Linked DNA regions of Homo sapiens: region 1 is linked to region 2. Evidence: promoter capture Hi-C in human tissues and cell types (Jung and others, 2019). All regions are on one chromosome and are shown on one strand. The core of a region is centred on a gene start or on the middle of the fragment in contact, and the rest is flanking DNA. Distances in the headings are between cores, read along the strand shown. Region 1 overlaps LIMS1 (LIM zinc finger domain containing 1). Region 2 holds the start of SULT1C4 (sulfotransferase family 1C member 4).

The links. The method cuts DNA at HindIII sites, captures the fragments that hold promoters and counts their contacts. A contact is called where the count stands out against the background at its distance.
Region 1: a contact is called between a fragment that was not itself captured here and the fragment with the promoter of SULT1C4 in region 2, in 1 of the 25 tissues and cell types used here (lymphoblastoid cells).

The regions. Positions count from the first base shown.
Region 1 is chr2:108,636,759-108,639,768 of GRCh38, reverse strand. All of the region lies in intron 1 of LIMS1 (LIM zinc finger domain containing 1), which reads right to left. Among named protein-coding and RNA genes, the nearest start is that of LIMS1-AS1, 40 kb to the left of the region's middle. RefSeq lists an enhancer at 2,914-3,010. The HindIII fragment of the contact is 4,573 bases long and covers 1-3,010 here.
Region 2 is chr2:108,376,596-108,379,362 of GRCh38, reverse strand. SULT1C4 (sulfotransferase family 1C member 4) reads right to left here and starts at 1,409. Exons shown (of 7, transcript NM_006588.4): 1 at 857-1,409. The coding sequence starts at 1,025. The HindIII fragment of the contact is 17,622 bases long and covers 1-2,767 here.

The sequences.
Region 1 (3,010 bases), core at 146-2,645, 260 kb before region 2:
TTTAAAATACATGTACACGGCTGGGCACGGTGACTCACGTCTGTAATCCCAGCACTTTGGGAGGCCAAAGTGGGTGAATCATGAGGTTAGGAGTTCAAGATCAGCCTGACCAACATGGTGAAACCCTGTCTCTACTAAAAATACAAAAATTAGCCGGGTGTGGTGGCAGGTGCCTGTAATCCCAGCTACTCAGGAGGCTGAAGCAGGAGAATCACTTGAACCCGGGAGGTGGAGGTTGCAATGAGCTGAGATGGCGCAACTGCGCTCCAGCCTGGGCGATAGAGCGAGACTTAGTCTCAAAAAAACAAAACAAAAACATGTACACATATATGATATATGATCTTAAATAAATGCAGGGTTGTTGCAAGGTGACTTTAGAATTATCTTTAAAAGTGATGATCAACATTTCCAGCACTGGGTGAAACATACAAAGGACATACGATTTTCTGGATGAATACCACTGTCCCTTTTTTTTCTCCTGAACTTTCTGCTTATCAGAAACCTGCCCAGTCCTCAAGTACCTGCTCAAGATCTTCTCCAGGAAGCTTTCTTGACATTCCAGGCCTTATCGATCTTCTGTTCAGCAGCCATAGCACCCACTGTGTGTCCCATGCAGTGAGTGGGTAAGATTTTCATTGGATATAATGTTGTGTTCTGTATCGCAAAGGTGCTCCTCATCTCCTTAAGAACACCAGGAGGCCCTTAAGTAGACATTTTTTTTTTTTTGAGACGGAGTCTCACTCTGTCACCCACGCTGGAGTGCAGTAGCGCGATCCATGCTCACTGCAGGCTCCGCCTCCCGGGTTCACACCATTCTCCTGCCTCAGCCTCCCGAGTAGCTGGGACTACAGGTGCCTATCAACACGCCCGGCTAATTTTTTGTGTTTTTAGTAGAGACGGGGTTTCACCATCTTAGCCAGGATGGTGTTGATCTCCTGACTTCATGATCCACCCGCCTCGGCCTCTCCAAGTGCTGGGATTACAGGCGTGAGCCACCGTGCCCAGCCTGTGCTTAGTTTTCTTGAGACAGAGTCTCACTCTGTTGCCAGGCTGGAGTGCAGTGGTGCAATTTTGACTCACCGCAACCTCGATCTCCTGGGTTCAAGTGATTCTCGTGCCTCAGCCTCCTGAGTAGCTGGAATTACAGGCATGTGCTACCACACCAGGCTAATTTTTGTATTTTTAGTGGTAGAGACGGGGTTTCACCATGTTGGACAGGCTGGTCTCGAACTCCTGACCTCAGGTGATCCGCTCGCCCTGGCCTCCCAAAGTGCTGGGGTTACAGGCGTGAACCACCACGCCCAGCCTCTGTTGAATCTTTATACCCCTCATGGCACCAAGCACACTGTCATCATGCAATTAATCAAACTGGACATCTTGAGAGAAGTCCCTAGACTGCCTGCAGAGGGCATCTAAAGAGGGCAAGCCCTGGTGAGCTGCGTCCCTACCCAGACACCCAGACAGCTCAGTCTAGCTCGTTGCCTTTGGCGTAACTTTCCTCAAGAAAGACAGCTCGATCAATCAGAATCACTATAGTTTGAAATCTATAAGCCACCTCACAATTTTTTTTTCTCCCATGGTCCCTCAAATAAGCAGTGTTTAGTCAATTTAAAAACATTCTTGGGCTGGGCATGGTGCCTCATGCCTGTAATCCCAGCACTTTGGGAGGCTGAGGCAGGAGGATCACTTGAGCTCAGGAGCTGGAGACCAGCCTGGGCAACGTGGTGACACACCATCTCTATAGAAAAATTAGCCGGGCACGGTGGCATGCACCTGTAGGCGCTACTAAGGAGGCTGAGGTAGGAGGATCGCTTGAGCCTGTGAGCTATGACTGAGCTGTGATCATGCCACTGCATTCCGGCCTGGGAGACACAGCGAGATACTGTCTCAAAAAAAAAAAAAAAATCTTAAAATTTTCTCTCATAGGTTAGGTGATTTTTCTCTGACCATTTAGAAACTTTAACTAGAAAATGTCTCTGTACTAGTTCCTTTATATTTCAAATCACTTATCTTTTCATTCTTTTATTTTTATTCGTATTGTGATCCATTAACATACATTCTCACACCTAAACAGCTTTTTAAAAAGATAACATTGTGTTCTGGTCAAAACAGACAAATTAGAGGAAGCTGTGTTTCCAATACAGAATGGCAGTATTTTTAGCTAGGAATGCTGACTTAGGAGAACGCCCAGATCACCAGTGACAGCCTCCAGTGTGTCAGGAGCTCTTGACACGGCTGTAGTGGCTGTAGCACCAGAGTATCTGGCTCTAAATAACACCCTTATTTTAGTTCTGACTCAGTCAAGGCTATCTCCCTGGACATTAACCTTCAGCTACACTGGGAGGGAAGTCCGTGGGAGTTTTTATTTTGTGACTAAGCTTAACACGGGGTTTACTTCCCTCAATGATAAGGTAAAAGAAAACCATGAGAATTTCAGAATAGAACAGAATAAAAAACATTTCACTTGAGTCAAGTGAAAACAATGAACCTTTTCAAATTCAAATGTACATATCTTTCACTGCCCGTTATTTTCTTTTTGACACAGAACATGTTTTGTGTAGATTTTACTGCATTAAACAGCATTTGAAAATACTGACCAGGATGAAGCAGAGGAACTAAAATACACACACACACACACACACACACACACACACACACACACACACACATATATGTATATTTTGCTGAATTTAAAAAGGTTTCTTTTCTTTCATTAACTTTAAATTTTGTGAAATGTACACAGAAAGGCAAGGGATTATTTCAGCTACCATAACTTAGATTTTGCCATAAGTACAATGAAAAAAGATGTGGAAATAGTATAAGGTCAGGAGGTCAACCACTGTAAGCTGGTGCTCATGTAACACTGCCCAGCTACAACCAGGCTAGCAGCATCTCCCAGGGGCCTCAGTCACTCCTCTTGTTCTGCAGGCTCCTGTGCTCAACCTTCCTCTCTCCCCACACAGAGCTCTCCATTCTCTGTCACGGAATGAAGCTATGGTTTTTGAAAGCA
Region 2 (2,767 bases), core at 160-2,659:
AGACCAAGGCCTCCATGTGCCTGCAGAATCTTCTGTCAGGATCTTGAGAGATAAGAACAAAAGAGGATTTTGAACAGTCTCAGAAAATACTGAGGTTTAGATTTTTTGATGTGTGTGTGTTTGTGTGTGTATAACAAGAGTTTTTGACAGCTTGATTTTGCAAAGAGCAAATGTATATACAATTTGTGTGTGGACCCAGTAATGTATTTCTAGTAGATATGTAGATATGCAAAAATATTTATAGAGAACTATTTCCACCTCATCATCACCCAATTTTTATGACGTGGTGGCTCGGCTTAAGCTAGTCCTACTTTTACAGACAACTTTGTTAAACTGATTGTTGAGATAAGGCAGTTGGTTCAAAACTTACCACAAAGGAAGGTGGAAATCAGAAGGATGGTTCTCAGACCCTGAGATGGGAGGGCTGCTGAGGTGATATCAGCATTGCAGAACCAAAGCTCCCCTATTTCTTTCCCAAATCAGACTCAGGATCACCTTTCTAGCTCACACACTCAAAGCAGCTTTTTACAAGATCTACAATAAGGGCCTAGATTGGGAATGAATAAATAAACAAGTCTACCCTTTTGCTCTTAACTGTTTTCACTCTCTCCTGGGAAAGTGAAAAAAAAAAAAAAAGGAAGTACATCATAGTATCATAGGAAGATTGAATTCTAAAAATTTGTATGTCATTTTAGTATGTTTCGGTATAGCTTCAGTTTCCACTAGTAACTTTCCTTAGCCATATCACTCTGTCCAGAGTTTTCCAGATCAACTTCTTTATTTCATGACTAATGCATACTTCCACTTACCTTCCTAACTCTCCTCTTCCCCTTCCCCTGCAAGCCCTTCCACCTACCTGCTTTAGGATAGGTAGAAATAAGCAGGTCATCAGGCTTGGCTTGGAAGTTCCAGATCTTATCCCAGATGTCACAGGTGTCTGTCGGTTGAAGAATTCCCTTCACGTAGTTGACACTTAAGCGCTTTGTTCCATCAAATGTAAAATCCTCCATGTCGTGTAAGGCCATTAGTGTAAGAAATCAGAGGGCTCTTCCAGACACAAAGTTATCTTCAGTCAGCATATGGCTGCGTTGTGGATAGAGGCAGCACTCTATCCACCACACTACCACACTATCCAGCCCTCTAGCACAGGCCTGTCTGGGCCAGCAAACAGGGAGAAAGTGAGTTGCAGGCCTCCCGACTCAGGTTCCAGGGAACTGGAACTCTTGTTTATGACTTTGTCCACTGGCAGTTTCCTGAGGAACTGCAGCCCCCTCCTCACCAGGCTGTGGCGTCACAGCAGAGGCGGCCACAAACCCTGCTGGCCAGCAAACAGGGAGAAAGTGAGCTGCAGGTCTCCCGACTCAGGTTCCAGGGAACTGGAGCTCTTGTTTATGAATTTGTCCACTGGCAGTTTCCTGAGGAACTGCAGCCCCCTCCTCACCAGGCTGTGACGTCACAGCAGAGGCGGTCACAAACCCTGCTGGCTGGGTCCCGTTCCAGCCCTTCCGTTCTCTGTGAGTTAACAGGACATAGTATCACATTGTTTATAGCTCTCATGTCTGTGTCCATTAAACCCTTCATAGATAATTTCAGTAATTATTCCTTCTGGGAATTTTAAACAATTAAAAAGTTGCAGGACTTGCCTGTGAAATTACAGATTCTACACAGAATGACTTCCCTGAGAGACTGCAGGGACTTTCCCGTGGGCTATTAACAGTGGGGGCCTGGATGGATCTGAATCTCCCAGTACAAACATCTGCCAGGGTCAGCTTTGTTATTTTTTAAGAGTAAAATAAATAATGCTAAACTGGAGAATTGTAGGGGTTTCATCACAGCTATGAAAACATGTATGCCTCATTTAAAGCAAAAGGGATGCAGAAAACTCCAGAGTTAACAGAAGACAGTGGCTGCCTTAGGAATCCATTCTGCCCCTGATAATCAGAAATTTCACAACTTGCTTCAGTCCCTGCCCCCGGCCTGGCCTGCACCCCAGGGCCATGCCACACTTGCTCCCCATGGCAGCACTCCTTCTGGAGATCTTGTCGGCTCTTGTGTGTCTGGCTGTCTGATTCTCTTTCTTCGTGTCCCAGCTTTGATGCCCCCTTTCTGGAGAAGCCTTCTTTGACTTTCTATGTCATCTCAAGTAGGTCCCTCCTATTTCCTTGCTCATGGCACTTTGTGTTCCTTTAGAGCAACCATTGACAGTTAGTTTTTGCGTGTTTACTTGTTGGCATTTTCTGTCTCCTTCACTACACTCTAAGGCACATGAAATGGGGCCTGTTGTTTTCTCACTGTTTGATAGCTGTATGCCTAGTGTCTGGCATTCTTCTATTTCTCGAAAGAATGAATGAGTAAAACTAAGCAAAAATTGAGGAAGCGAGTTCCTTGGGCCATCATTATGTGGGGACTAGGTGAGTATGGTGGCTGTGGCTTGACATCCTTCAGAGAGAAGTCAGGCTGCCTGTATTTGAACCCTGTGCCAAGTCCCAGTAGCTGTGGGCAATGGCAGGTTACAGAATCTTTCTCTGTTTCATATCACGCTTTTCCTCAGGTCTGAATTGGGGATCTTAACATTATCTACCTCATGGTTGTGGGGAGATAAAACAGCTTATTTAATGCTTGGCAACAGGGAAATGTTGAATAAATCATAGCTGTTAATAATAATGGGTGACTTTGTTCACCATTTCTCTGTGGCCCATGTTCTGGATGCAAACTCAGAAAAGATCAATTCTTTGGCTTTCCCTATTCCTCATCCCCTCCCTCCAGA